Linked DNA regions of Homo sapiens: regions 1, 2, 3 and 5 are each linked to region 4. The links are contacts of gene promoters, found by promoter capture Hi-C in blood cells and fetal thymus (Javierre and others, 2016). All regions are on one chromosome and are shown on one strand. The core of a region is centred on a gene start or on the middle of the fragment in contact, and the rest is flanking DNA. Distances in the headings are between cores, read along the strand shown. Region 1 has its middle 58 kb from the start of N4BP3. Region 2 has its middle 18 kb from the start of N4BP3. Region 3 has its middle 8.8 kb from the start of MXD3. Region 4 holds the start of TMED9 (transmembrane p24 trafficking protein 9). Region 5 has its middle 23 kb from the start of FGFR4.

What was found. The method cuts DNA at HindIII sites, captures the fragments that hold promoters and counts their contacts. A CHiCAGO score of 5 or more calls a contact.
Region 1: a fragment that was not itself captured here is called in contact with the fragment with the promoter of TMED9 in region 4 in 5 of 17 cell types (naive B cells, total B cells, total CD4 T cells and 2 more); the score reaches 9.1 in naive B cells.
Region 2: a contact is called between a fragment that was not itself captured here and the fragment with the promoter of TMED9 in region 4, in 1 of 17 cell types (total B cells). The highest score is 5.6, in total B cells.
Region 3: a contact is called between a fragment that was not itself captured here and the fragment with the promoter of TMED9 in region 4, in 2 of 17 cell types (naive B cells and total CD8 T cells). The highest score is 5.9, in naive B cells.
Region 5: a contact is called between a fragment that was not itself captured here and the fragment with the promoter of TMED9 in region 4, in 1 of 17 cell types (neutrophils). The highest score is 5.1, in neutrophils.

What each region holds. Positions count from the first base shown.
Region 1 is chr5:178,054,391-178,057,090 of GRCh38, forward strand. It overlaps the pseudogene FAM153CP and the pseudogene RPL19P9. Among named protein-coding and RNA genes, the nearest start is that of N4BP3, 58 kb to the right of the region's middle. The HindIII fragment of the contact is 2,854 bases long and covers 19-2,700 here.
Region 2 is chr5:178,093,910-178,096,609 of GRCh38, forward strand. No RefSeq gene overlaps it. Among named protein-coding and RNA genes, the nearest start is that of N4BP3, 18 kb to the right of the region's middle. The HindIII fragment of the contact is 8,743 bases long and covers 1-2,700 here.
Region 3 is chr5:177,319,328-177,322,136 of GRCh38, forward strand. No RefSeq gene overlaps it. Among named protein-coding and RNA genes, the nearest start is that of MXD3, 8.8 kb to the left of the region's middle. RefSeq lists enhancers at 611-1,112, 1,113-1,612. The HindIII fragment of the contact is 1,134 bases long and covers 854-1,987 here.
Region 4 is chr5:177,590,753-177,593,452 of GRCh38, forward strand. TMED9 (transmembrane p24 trafficking protein 9) reads left to right here and starts at 1,451. Exons shown (of 5, transcript NM_017510.6): 1 at 1,451-1,646; 2 at 1,823-1,923. The coding sequence starts at 1,463. RefSeq lists an enhancer at 2,656-2,700. The HindIII fragment of the contact is 2,414 bases long and covers 464-2,700 here.
Region 5 is chr5:177,108,797-177,111,496 of GRCh38, forward strand. No RefSeq gene overlaps it. Among named protein-coding and RNA genes, the nearest start is that of FGFR4, 23 kb to the left of the region's middle. RefSeq lists an enhancer at 1,438-1,937. The HindIII fragment of the contact is 6,039 bases long and covers 1-2,700 here.

The DNA.
Region 1 (2,700 bases), core at 196-2,695, 460 kb after region 4:
GATACGTGATAGTTGATAAGCTTTAGGCATATGTCAATCTGTGGCCATTTAATTTTGGGCTAAGGACTTGTTCTATTATAGCACAGTAATCATTTTACTAAATAGTGACTATTTGTCATGAAAAACAGTATATTTAGTTTTAATACAGTTGAGTACTCACAAATTTCTGGGGGAACTTCGTCAGGACATTTCAACTGAGAATTGTCAGGCACCTTCTCACTGATAGGCATGCTGCTCGGTGGTGCAGCTCATAAGCAGACAACCCCCTTCATGTAATTTAGTAGGAAAATGACAGAAATACTTGTGTAACTATAAAGTAAAGCAGAATTCTGGTTATTGAATCACAGCACCTACTGAAAGAAGTTCTCAAGTTCTGACTGAGTTCTAAAATTTTTTGAAGATTAGAATTCTTCATATGTAAGTAAAAACAATTTCTGATGACCCATTTCTAGTCCATCTTCTAAAGAAGTATTTAATCTGGGCCACGCATGGCGGCTCACGCCTGTCATCCCAGCACTTTGGGAGGCCGAGGCAGGTGGATCACGAGGTCAGGAGATCAAGACCATCCTGGCTAACACGGTGAAACCCTGTTTCTATTAAAAATACAAAAAAGGCCGAGCGTGGTGGCTCACACCTGTAATCCCAGCACTTTGGGAGGCTGAGGTGGGCAGATCACGAGGTCAGGAGATCGAGACCACGGTGAAACCCCGTCTCTACTAAAAATACAAAAAATTAGCCAGGCATGGTTGTGGGCTCCTGTAGTCCCAGGTACTCGGGAGGCTGAGGCAGGAGAATGGCGTGAACCCGGGAGGTGGAGCTTGCAGTGAGCTGAGATCGCACCACTGCACTCCAGCCTGGGTGACAGAGTGAGACTCTGTCTCAAAAAAAAAAAAAAAAAAAATAGGTCTCACTGCACCTTTGCAGTAATTATATGAAGGGGTAGCCTGCCCATCCATACCTGTGGGTATATCTTGTCAGGTGGGATGAGAGACTGAGAAAAGAAATAAGACACGGAGACAAAGTACAGAGAAAGAACAGCGGGCCCAGGAGACCGGCACTCAGCATACGGAGGACCAGCACTGGCACCGGCCTCTGAGTTCCCTCAGTTTATTGATTACCATTTTCAGTGTCTCAGCAAGAGGAATGCGGTAGGAGAGCAGGGTGTCAGCAAGAAAACCTGTGAGCCTTTCCTTTCGCTGCTGCGGCCGCAGCCATGAGCATGCTCGGGCCTCAGAAGAGGCTCGCCTCTAGTGTCCTCCGCTGTGGCAAGAAGAAGGTCTGGTTAGACCCCAGTGAGACCAATGAAATCGCCAATGCCAACTCCCGTCAGCAGATCCGGAAGCTCATCAAAGACGGGCTGATCATCCGCAAGCCTGTGACGGTCCATTCCCGGGCTCGATGCCGGAAAAACACCTTGGCCCGCCGGAAGGGCAGGCACGTGGCCATAGGTGAGCAGAAGGGTACAGCCAATGCCCGAATGCCAGAGAAGGTCACATGGATGAGGAGAATGACGATTTTGCGCCGGCTGCTCAGAAGATACCGTGAATCTAAGAAGATCGATCGCCACACGTATCACAGCCTGTACCTGAAGGTGAAGGGGAATGTGTTCAAAGACAAGCGGATTCTCATGGAACACATCCACAAGCTGAAGGCAGACAAGGCCCGCAAGAAGCTCCTGGCTGACCAGGCTGAGGCCCGCAGGTCTAAGACCAAGGAAGCAGGCAAGTGCCCTGAAGAGCGCCTCCAGGCCAAGAAGGAGGAGTTCATCAAGACTTTATCCAAGGAGGAAGAGACCAAGAAATAAAAGCTCCCCCTTTGTCTGTACATACTGGCCTCTGTGATTACATAGATCAGCCATGAAAATAAAACAAGCCTTAAAAAAAAAAAACATGTGAGCAAAGGAATCTGTGTCACAAATAAGTTCAAGGGACGGTACTATGCCTGGATGTGCACGTAGGCCAGATTTATGTTCCTCTCCACCCAAACATCTCAGTGGAGTAAAGAATAATAAAGCAGCATTGCTGCCAACATGTCTCACCTCCCGCCACAGGGCGGTTTTTCTCCTATCTCAAAACTGAACAAATGTACAATCAGGTTTTATACCGAGACATTCAGTTCCCAGGGGCAGGCAGGAGACAGTGGCCTTCCTCTATCTCAACTGCAAGAGGCTTTCCTCTTTTACTAATCCTCCTCAGCACAGACCCTCCACAGATGTCGGGCTGGGGGACGGTCAGGTCTTTCCCATCCCATGAGGCCATATTTCAGATTTTCACATAGGGAGAAACCTTGGACAATACCCGGCTTCCCAGGGCAGAGTTCCCTGTGGCTTTCCGCAGTGCATTGTGCCCCTGGTTTATTGAGACTGGAGAATGGCGATAACTCTTACCAAGCATACTGCTTGGAAACATGTTGTTAACAAGGCACATCCTGCATAGCCCTAGATCCCTTTAACCTTGATTCCATACAACACATGTTTCTGTGAGCTCAAGGTTGAGGCAAAGTTACAGATTAGCAGCATCACAGGGCAAAGCAATTGTTCAGGGTACGGGTTAACATGGAGTTTCTTATGTCTTCCCTTTCTACATAGACACAGTAACAGTCTGATCTCTCTTTCTTTTCCCTACAATTATAGTCCATTGTGTACATGAAAACAAGGCCTTCTGAAAACATGTATTATTGGTCAGAGGCAGCAGCAGTGAG
Region 2 (2,700 bases), core at 110-2,609, 500 kb after region 4:
GTGCAGTGGCTCACGCCTGTAATCCCAGCACTTTGGGAGGCCGAGGCGGGCGGATCACCTGAGGTCAGGAGTTCGAGACCAGCCTCAACATGGAGAAACCCCGTCTCTACTAAAAATACAAAATTAGCCGGGCGTGGTGGTGCATGCCTGTAATCCCAGCTACTCGGGAGGCTGAGGCAAGAGAATTGCTTGAACCTGGGAGGCGGAGGTTGTGGTGAGCCGAGATTGCTCCATTGCACTCCAACCTGGGCAACAAGAGCGAAACTCCATCTCAAAAAAAAGGTTGGGAAGCGCTGACTCACAGTATGTTCCATGAGGCCTGTGCTCTAGAGAAAAATTACCCTAGGTAAGGACAATAGAGATGCAGCAAGTGTAAAGGCCCTGCGGTGGGCCAGTGTGACTGGAGCTTGAATAACGGGACAGTGGGAGAAGATGAGGTCAGAGTCAGGATGGAGCCACGGCAGCTATGACCTGATAGGACATGGTAAAGAGGGGGCTGCGGGAAGCCACTGGAAACAATGAAGCAGAGAAGGAACATGACCAGATTCAAGGCTTAGAAAGCCACTTCGGCTGCTGTGTAGAGAATGGACTAGGTGGAGTGAGACAGGAAGCAAGGAGGCAAGCTGGGTGGTTCCTGCAGGAAGCCAGGTGGGAGGGGGCAGGCGCTTGCACTGAGGGCTGCAGAGACAAAAGAAGTGGAGGGATGTGAGACATATCTGGAGAGAGAATCTATAGAGTTTGTTCATGAATGGGATGGGAGGGGTGTGATACGAGGCGAGGGAAGAAATTGAGGCTACTAGCGGGTTTGGGCTTCCGCTATGGAGTGGATGGTCGTAGCACAGACTGCAGTGAGGAAGACAGGTTCGAAGAGGGAAATCAAGCATCTTGTTCAGGACCTATGAAGTTGTGGAGCCCAGCCAACATCCAAGTGGGGACAGCCCATAGGTGGTATTTGTTGACTGCGTAAGTGAGCTCAGTTCTTCTGGTGGGGAACACGGTCTGTAGTAAGGCGGAGTATTGAGTTTTAGACAACTCTGCCGAAACCCCTTAGGTGGAGAAGACTTCGGCTGCCCTGGGCCTTGCACCCACTGGTTCTGGATGTGCCATCTCCCGGGCTCACATGCTGGATTCACGTCAGTCCTCCCTCCTCCATGGTCACTCTTCAGATGGCTTCACATCGGTCCTCCCTGCTCCATGGTCACTCTTCAGATGGATTCACGTCAGTCCTCCCTCCTCCGTGGCCACTCTTCAGATGGCTTCATGTCGGTCCTCCCTCCTCCGTGGCCACTCTTCAGATGGCTTCATGTCGGTCCTCCCTCCTCCGTGGCCACTCTTCAGATGGCTTCATGTCGGTTCTCCCTCCTCCGTGGCCACTCTTCAGATGGATTCACGTCAGTCCTCCCTCCTCCGTGGCCACTCTTCAGATGGATTCACGTCAGTCCTCCCTCCTCCGTGGCCACTCTTCAGATGGATTCACGTCAGTCCTCCCTCCTCCGTGGCCACTCTTCAGATGGCTTCACGTCGGTCCTCCCTCCTCAGTGGCCACTCTTCACATGGATTCATGTCGGTCCTCCCTCCTCAGTGGCCACTCTTCACATGGATTCATGTCGGTCCTCCCTCCTCCGTGGCCACTCTTCAGATGGCTTCACGTCGGTCCTCCCTCCTCGGTGGCCTCTCTTCAGATGGATTCACGTCGGTCCTCCCTCCTCCGTGGCCACTCTTCAGATAGCTTCACGTCGGTCCTCCCTCCTCCGTGGCCACTCTTCAGATGGCTTCATGTCGGTCCTCCCTCCTCCGTGGCCACTCTTCAGATGGCTTCATGTCGGTCCTCCCTCCTCCGTGGCCACTCTTCAGATGGCTTCATGTCGGTCCTCCCTCCTCCGTGGCCACTCTTCAGATGGCTTCATGTCGGTTCTCCCTCCTCCGTGGCCACTCTTCACATGGATTCATGTCGGTCCTCCCTCCTCCGTGGCCACTCTTCAGATGGCTTCATGTCGGTCCTCCCTCCTCCGTGGCCACTCTTCAGATGGCTTCATGTCGGTCCTCCCTCCTCAGTGGCCACTCTTCAGATGGATTCATGTCGGTCCTCCCTCCTCCGTGGCCACTCTTCAGATGGCTTCACGTCGGTCCTCCCTCCTCCGTGGCCACTCTTCAGATAGCTTCACGTCGGTCCTCCCTCCTCCGTGGCCACTCTTCACATGGATTCACGTCGGTCCTCCCTCCTCCGTGGCCACTCTTCAGATGGCTTCATGTCGGTCCTCCCTCCTCCGTGGCCACTCTTCAGATGGCTTCATGTCGGTCCTCCCTCCTCCGTGGCCACTCTTCACATGGATTCATGTCGGTCCTCCCTCCTCCGTGGCCACTCTTCAGATGGCTTCATGTCGGTCCTCCCTCCTCCGTGGCCACTCTTCAGATGGCTTCATGTCGGTCCTCCCTCCTCGGTGGCCTCTCTTCAGATGGATTCACGTCGGTCCTCCCTCCTCCGTGGCCACTCTTCAGATGGCTTCATGTCGGTCCTCCCTCCTCGGTGGCCTCTCTTCAGATGGATTCACGTCGGTCCTCCCTCCTCCGTGGCCACTCTTCAGATGGCTTCATGTCGGTCCTCCCTCCTCCGTGGCCACTCTTCACATGGATTCATGTCGGTCCTCCCTCCTCCGTGGCCACTCTTCAGATGGCTTCATGTCGGTCCTCCCTCCTCCG
Region 3 (2,809 bases), core at 171-2,670, 270 kb before region 4:
TTTTGACCCCATCAATGCCTACTTTATTCAGTCCATTTCATTAAGAACCCTTTAAAGATTCCATCCTGCTGGGATGAGTATCTTGACTCTTCCCTTTGTTTTCCCCACTCTCTTGTGAATCATTCTAACCATCTTCACTGTTGTTTCAGCATAATTTTCCCCCTCAAAAGTGGCCCTGGGAATAGCTGTAGCTCAGACCAGCCACAATCCAAGCTTGGCCCAATCTCAGGATCTGCCCTATCACCATCTTTTGCCTTCATTGTTGCTACAGAGAACAATAGGATGGTATATTTAGCTTGTTTCTAGTTACTTTGCATTTCCTTATACGTCCAGTGAACTAACTCCTTGGGAGTTGCATCCATCATTTCTAAAATTCATTATTAATTTTTGCCTCCACTAACTGATCACAGCACAGCTGCATTTCCATACCACAGTGAACTCATGGCCCTCCAGGAATCAAAGGTTCATCATACTCCATCCTCTCATCCAATTCCTAGAGATAGTAACTCACTCACTCACCTGCAAGCGTGCCGTGCCTTTCATATTCATACTAACCAATCCAGAGCCCATACCTTCCAACCACCTCCTTTACTGGGCTCTTACACGCTGCACCACTATCCCCCAGAGACTGGACAACTAGGGACATCCTACCCCAAACCCATTGAAATTATTCAAGCTAGGCAATCCTAGACCTGCTCACTCTGCCTCTCAGGTTCCTTCCTAAGCAAACCACAATAAAGGCTCTTGCCCCACAGTTCCCCTCCCTCCCTCTGCCCCCGACCAACACTGGTGCTTCCCCGTGTGGCCCGTGTTAGTGTGCGGTGCCGCCTGTTTCTAGGGAACTGTGAGTATAAGCTTCTTCCCACCATGGCAGTCATTTCTGTGTCTGTTACATCATATCTAAGGACAACAAATCCAAGGTGTCCTTACAACAACTGGCGCAGTGAGCAGGGTGGTTTGATGCCAGATGGAGATGGTATGTCCTCAAACTGCTCTTGGCTTACTAACTGGATCCACCAGGCAGTGGCCATTGCCTGGAAGGCAGCCCTGGTCATTTGTGCGCCCCCTTGATGGCTGGTGCACTGTGTGGTGTGTTGTGGGTGCTGCTGTGGATTCCCAACCTGAGGGCGGTGCTCGGGAAGCTGAGTCCTCCCGGAGCTGCTGCCCAGGCTAGAGTGTTCAGTGCCTGGGACTCAGGCCACAGGGCACTCGTCTTTCTCCGTGCTGGTGGAGCACCCAGACGCCAGAACAGAACACCTGGAGGTATACGGAAAACTGACCACATCGGTTTCTTGAAAAAGTCCTTCCATGGCCGGGCATGGTGGCTCACGCCTGTAATCCCAGCACTCTGGGAGGCCAAAGCAGGTGGATCACCTAAGGTCGGGAGTTTGATACCAGCCTGAGTAACATGGAGAAACCTCGTCTCTACTAAAAATACAAAATTAGCCGGGTGTGGTGGCACATGCCTGTAATCCCAGCTACTCGGGAGGCTGAGGCAGGAGAATCGCTTGAACCCAGGAGGCGGAGGTTGCAATGAGCCAAGACTGTGCCATTGCACTAAAGCCTAGGCAACAAGAGCAAGACTCCATCTCAAAAAAGAAAAGGAGAGAAAAGGTCCTTCCAAAGACAACAAGAGCAACTACCCTGCTAGCGTCATGGGATGAGTCTAACCCACTGACCAGGCAGCACTGGCAAGCGGTGGGGCCAGCCATGTCGGTCACTTGTATGCAAGTGCTCAGTGTCTGGGATGTTATATGCTCCAGCAGGCACTTGATAAACCACTTCCCCTTTTCCTTCTGGCCTTTGCTGAGTCAAAAGTTTCAGCCTGTTCTCTGGAGTATGGGAAGAGTACTCCACCTGAACGCCTGCATGTGTAGCGTAGGCTGTTCCCACGGTCAGTGTCAGGGTGTCCTCTTCAAGGGATCCGGGCACCCTGCAAATGTTCTTGTTCCAGCCACAAACCTCTCTTCCTTTAGCCAGGTCCTGAAGCTTTCCTCTTTTAGTGTGGGGCTTTCATTATGATTTATTCTTAAGTCCGAATGTTATTTGGTAGTATGTTTTTAGTTTCCAGATACAAAGGATTTTTTCAGTTATCTTTTGGTTGCTGATTTCCATTTATATTCTCCATATTCCTTTTTTTCTTTTCTTTTTTTTTTTTTTTTTTTTTTTTTTTGAGACAGAGCCTTACTCTGTTGCCCAGGCTGGAGTGCAGTGGCACGATCTCAGCTCACTGCAACCTCCGCCTCCCAGGTTCAAGTGATTCTCCTGCCTCAGCCTCCCGAGTAGCTGGGACTACAGGCACGCACCACCATGCCCGTCTAATTTTGTATTTTTTTAATTTTTTTTTTTTTTTCAGACAGAGTCTCGCTCTGTCACCAGGCTAGAGTGCAGTGGCACGATCTCGGCTCACTGCAACCTCTGCCTCCCAGGTTCAAGCCATTCTCCGGCTTCAGCCTCCCAAGTAGCTGGGACTACAGGCACACGCCACCACACCCAGCTAATTTTTTTGTATTTTTAGTAGAGACGGGGTTTCAACATGTTGGCCAAGATGGTCTCGATCTCAACTTCGTGATCCGCCTGCCTCGGCCTCCCAAAGTACTGGGATTACAGGCATGAGCCATCATGCCGGGCCCATTCTCTTTAAAAATCTCCTCTTTATAAATCTCTTTATAAATCTCCATCTCTGTGTTTCCTCCCAAGGTCCTCTGATCTTTGATCTGATCTTCAAATTAGTTGATCTTCAACTAATTTGGTGAATCCATTTTGTTATCAACCCCTATATTGAGTCCTTTATGTCAACTAAAAAGTT
Region 4 (2,700 bases), core at 201-2,700:
TTCCATTCTGTGGGTTGCCTCTTTACTCTGCTACAGAGTCTTTTGATGCACAAAATGTTTTAATTTTCATAAAGTCCAATTTGTCTATTTTTTCTTTTGTTGCCTGTGCCTTTAGTGTCATATCCAGGAAGTCTGTTGCCAAATCCGATGTGGTAAACCCTTTGCCATATGTTTTCTATGAGTTTTATGCTTTGGGATTTTAAAAGTTGTGGGTCTTTTTGGGTGAATTTTTATCTATGGTGTTAGAGAAGGAACCACCTTCACTTTTTTGCATGTGGATATCCAGTTTTCCCAGCACCATTTGTTAGAAAGACTGTCCCTCCTCCCCGCATTGAATGGGCTTGGTCTCCTTGTTAAAAATTATTTGACCATATATGGGAGGGCATATCTTGGGGCTCTCTATTGTATTCCATTGGTCTATATGTCTGTCTATATGCCAGTACCACACTGTCTTGATGACTGAAGCTTGGAAGTAAGTTTTGAAATCAGGAAGTGTGAGTTCTTCAGCTTTATTCTTATTTTTCAGGATTGTTTTGGCTAATCGAAATCCCTTGAGAGTATATGAATTGTAGAATGAGTTTCTCTGTTTCTACAAAAAATGTCATTGGGATTTTGACAGGAATTGCATTAAATCTGTAGATTGCTTTGGATAGTATTGACATCTTAACTATATTAAGTAAGGATGATTTTTTTTAAATTACTGATTCAATCTCCTCACTAGTTATAGGTTTATTCAGATTATATTATCTATTCTGAGTCAGTTTTGCATTTCTATGAATTTGTCCATTTCATCTACGTTATCCAATTTGTTGGCTTATATTTGCTCATAGTACTCTCTTATGATCCTTTCTATTTCTGTAGAATTGCTAGTAACGAGCCATTGCAGTTGGGATCTGGCAGCAGAGGCTGTGTGTGTGTTTGTGTGTGTGTGTGATCGGAGAAATGCTTGAGAGGGTAACACCCGATTTAGGAGTGGACAGGGTATGAGGACAAAGAAGTGGTAATGGGAGACCTTGCCTTTTATTTCTTTTAATCTTTTTTGATAATACATTTGTGCATTATTTGGTCGTTCTCTTTAAATTCATTTTTAAAGGTAGAAGCAAATCAAGACTGGTAGATGCTGTGCCAAGGAAAGTCAGGGATCCTAGGTTCGAATCCTGTCTCTGTTCGCAATTCGCTCCGCAACCTCAAACAAACGACCTCAGTTTCATCTATGAAAAGCTGGTAACCATCGTCAGTTGCCAGGCCATGAAGAGAGTCAACGGAAATAAGTTTTTATTCTAGGGCACCCGCTCTCTCTCAGGTAAAAGCCGCGCCCCAATCAGGTACTGCCGCGCCAGGGCCGCGGGACATCTCGGGATTTGTGGTCCACCCGGCGGAACTCGCGGTCCCGGCAGGCACCGCGGCGGCGGCAGGGCGACGTGGCGCGGCCGGCTGCGGCTGCGCAGGCAGGTGGAGCAAGATGGCTGTGGAGCTGGGCGTGCTGCTCGTCCGGCCCCGGCCCGGAACCGGGCTGGGTAGAGTGATGCGGACCCTCCTGCTGGTGCTGTGGCTGGCGACGCGCGGAAGCGCGCTCTACTTTCACATCGGAGAGACGGAGAAGAAGTGCTTTATTGAGGAGATCCCGGACGAGACCATGGTCATAGGTGCGGGGGCGGGGAGGAAGGGGCGAGTTTGGAACGTGACCGTGGTCTTGGGGCGGGGGATGCGAGACAGTCAGCTCTCTAGAGCCGGGAGGAGACGGCCTCGCCGTGCCCAGGCGGTCGCGGAACCCATGCCACCTCGCGCTCCTCTGACCTGGGCTCGCCCTGCTTCCCTCAAGGAAACTACCGGACGCAGCTGTATGACAAGCAGCGGGAGGAGTACCAGCCGGCCACCCCGGGGCTTGGCATGTTTGTGGAGGTGAAGGACCCAGAGGACAAGGTGAGCCAACCGCCCCCCTCCTCTCCGCCAGCCTCTCAGCTAGGCGGGCTCCGGTACTTCCTCTTCTAGTTCCTGCATCTGCTAAAGTGGGAGAGACAGTTGATGTTGTGGGAATATCCTGCTGACTTGCAGACCCCGCCCGGTCTGTGAAATGGGCGGATTAATTGTGGTGATAAAAATCAAAGAGTTTTGTCAACTCTTAAAGTCATCTAGACTTTAAGATTTCACAGAACATGATACTTTCCCCACAAAATGAGCAGCTTTTAATCTTCCCAAGTAAGGATATTAAAACGAACGGCAAAACCCTTCAGCTCTCACCTTCTGTCACTTTTCGTTAAAAAACTCATGGCGGGGTGTGGTGGCTCTTGCCTGTAATCCCAGCACTTTGGGATGCCGAGGCGGGTGGATCACTTGAGGCCGGGAGTTCAGGACCGGCCTGGGCAACCTCCGTCTGGCAAACCCCGTCTCTAGTAAAAATACAAAAAAAAAAAAAAAAAAAAATGAGCCGGGTGTGGTGGCGCACACCTCTAATACCAGATACTTGGGAGGCTAAGGCACGATAATTGCTTGAACCTGGGAAGCTGAGGCTGCAGTGAGCTGAGATAGCATCACTGCACTCCAGCCAGGACGACAGAGTGAGACTCTGTCTCAAAAACAAAAACAAAAAAGAACCCCCCAAAAAACAACTCACACCAAAAAAGTTGAAAGGGCATAAGCTATAAAGGAAAGCCCTTCCCAAGAGCAGTCAGTCACTTGCCACCCTAATGTCAGACTCTC
Region 5 (2,700 bases), core at 100-2,599, 480 kb before region 4:
CTCAGCTACTCAGGAGGCTGAGGCAGGAGAATGGCGTGAACCCAGGAGGCGGAGCTTGCAGTGAGCTGAGATCGTCCCACTGCACTCCAGCCTGGGTGACAGAGAGAGACTCCGTCTCAAAAAAAAAAAAAAAAAAAAGCTGGAGAACTCCAGGTGCTGGCAAGGAGACGAGAGGCTCTCCTGGACTGGGGGCTGAAGCTGTCCCAGCGAAGTCTAGGAGCATTCAGCTAAGTATATACACACATGCCCTATGACCTGGAAATGTTGCCCTGAACATATAACTGCCCCCAAACACACACACACACACACACACACACACACACACACACACACAACACACAGAGATCCTCCCATGTGACCGTGTGGGGAAGGCAGGAGGAGGGGTTGGATCCAGCCTGGGGTTCCTCACTGGAAGGCGGATCAGCAGAATGTGTGGAGGACCCGGTGGACACAGAGCCACATGGGGGACTTAGAAATCTCGTGCTGAGAGGCAAGAGGAAGAAATGGAATGAGATCTAAAGCACAAAGCCACTTGCACGAAATGATGACACGGAAAACACACATTTTCCAAGAACGCACACACAAAACTATTAGCACGACTGTCTGGGGGGCAGGGTGATAAGAATGGAGAATGAGGCCTGGCGTAGTGTCTCACGCCTGTAATCCCAGCACTTTGGGAGGCCGAGGCGGATGGATCTCGAGATCAGGAGATCAAAACCATTTTGGCCAACATGGTGAAACCCTGTCTCTACTAAAAATACAAAAATTAGCCGGGCGTGGTGGCACGCGCCTGTAATCCCAGCTACTCCGGAGGCTGAGGCAGGAGAATTGCTGGAACCCGGGAGGCAGAGGTTGCAGTGAGCTGAGATTGTGCCATTGCACTCCAGCCTGGGCAACAAGAGCAAAACTCTGTATTAGAAGAAAAAAAAAAAAGAACGAAGCACTGAGCACTGACCAGATAGAGGAAGGCGTGCAGGGGTGTGGAGTTGTGGAGTGTTGGGAATTGAAAGGCTCAGTAAATCAAGAAATGTTTACTGGGCACCTACCATAGGCCAGGTACTCTTCTAGTCACTGGGTATACCCAGTGAAGACAGACCTGGCCCCTGCCCTGAGGAGTTTCGTATCTACAAATGGAGACAGATATTCAACAAACACCCAGGAAAATGCTGACTGTAATGAAACGCAGAGCTCTGAAGGTCAACAGCCTGCAGCTGTGAGTGCTGACGGTGGGGACTGATCCTGGCCGGCTCCGGCTCCGGCTCCGGCTCCGGGAAGGGTTCCCTGAGGGAATGATGTTTGAGTTGAAGGAGGAGAGCCTTGGCCTTGTGAAGAGTGGGAGGAAATGCATTCCAGGCAGACAGAATGGTCTCTGCAAAGGTCTGGAGGCAGGCAGGTGCAGGGCGAAGGTGAGGGCATCCGATCCAGCTCCGTGGACAGAGCACAAGAGTGAGGGGGAACACGGTGCCAGATGAGGCCAAACCCAGGGGGCCTCGTAGGCTGTGGGTTTATCCTAAGGCAAGTGACAAGACAGGAAAGCAAGGGGCTGGTGCAGATGGGCAGGCAGTGGAGGGGATTGTTGCAGCGCCTGGCTAGACTCAGAGCCGGGAACCGGAACAGCCCCCCAAAGTACATGTGTGGCCTCCCAAGAAGACAGAAGTAAGAGCCCCAGAGCATCCACAGAGTGACCATCCACGCTGTCTCCCACTCTCTGGTCTGGGGCCAGCAGCGCCTCTGCACAGCTACATTCTGAGGCTCCCAGCTTGGCCAAGGGGATAGAGAAAAGTGGAAGGCCAGATGCAGAATAAGAGGATTTGCTAGGCCAGGCATGGCATTTCACGCCTGAAATCCCAGCATTTTGGGAGGCTGAGGCGGGAGAATGACTTGAGGCCAGGAGTTCAGGACCAGTCTGGGCAACACAGTGAGACCCTGTCTCTACAAAAAAAATAAAACAATTAGCCGAGTGCGAGAACACGTGCCTGTAGTCCCAGCTACTTGGGAGGCTGAGGTGGTAGGATCACTCTTACAGAGAGAACAGTCTCTGCTTGGAATAGTCCAAGCTCCTTAACACGCAGAGGAGGCCTTCAGGATCTGGCCCAGTAGGTTGCAGTGAGCTACGATATTGAGTCTCTGCACTCCAGCCTGGAACACAGAGCAAGCTCCTGTCTGAAATAAATAAATAAATAAATAAATAAATAAATAAATAAATAAAAGGGAGGCCGGGCACAGTGGTTCATGCCTGTAATCCCAGCACTTTGGGAGGCTGAGGCGGGCAGATCACCTGAGGTCAGGAGTTTGAGATGAGCCTGGCCAACACAGTGAAACCCTGTCTCTACTAAAAATACAAAAATTAGCTGGGTGTGGGTGGGCTACTAGGTAGCCCAGCTACTCGGGAGGCTGAGGCAGGAGAATCGCTTGAGCCCAGGAGGTGGAGGTTGCAGTGAGCCGAGATCATGCCACTGCACTCCAGCCTGGATGACAGAGCAAGACTCCCTCTCAAAAACAAAATAAAAATAAAAATAAAAGGGGGCTGGGCGCAGTGGCTCACACCTGTAATCCCAGCACTTTGGGAGACTGAGGCGGGGGATCACAAGGTCAGGAGCTCAAGACCAGCCTGGCCAAGATGGTGAAACCCCGTCTCTACTAAAAATACAAAAAATTAGCTGGGCGTGGTGGCGGGCGCCTGTAGTCCCAGCTACTTGG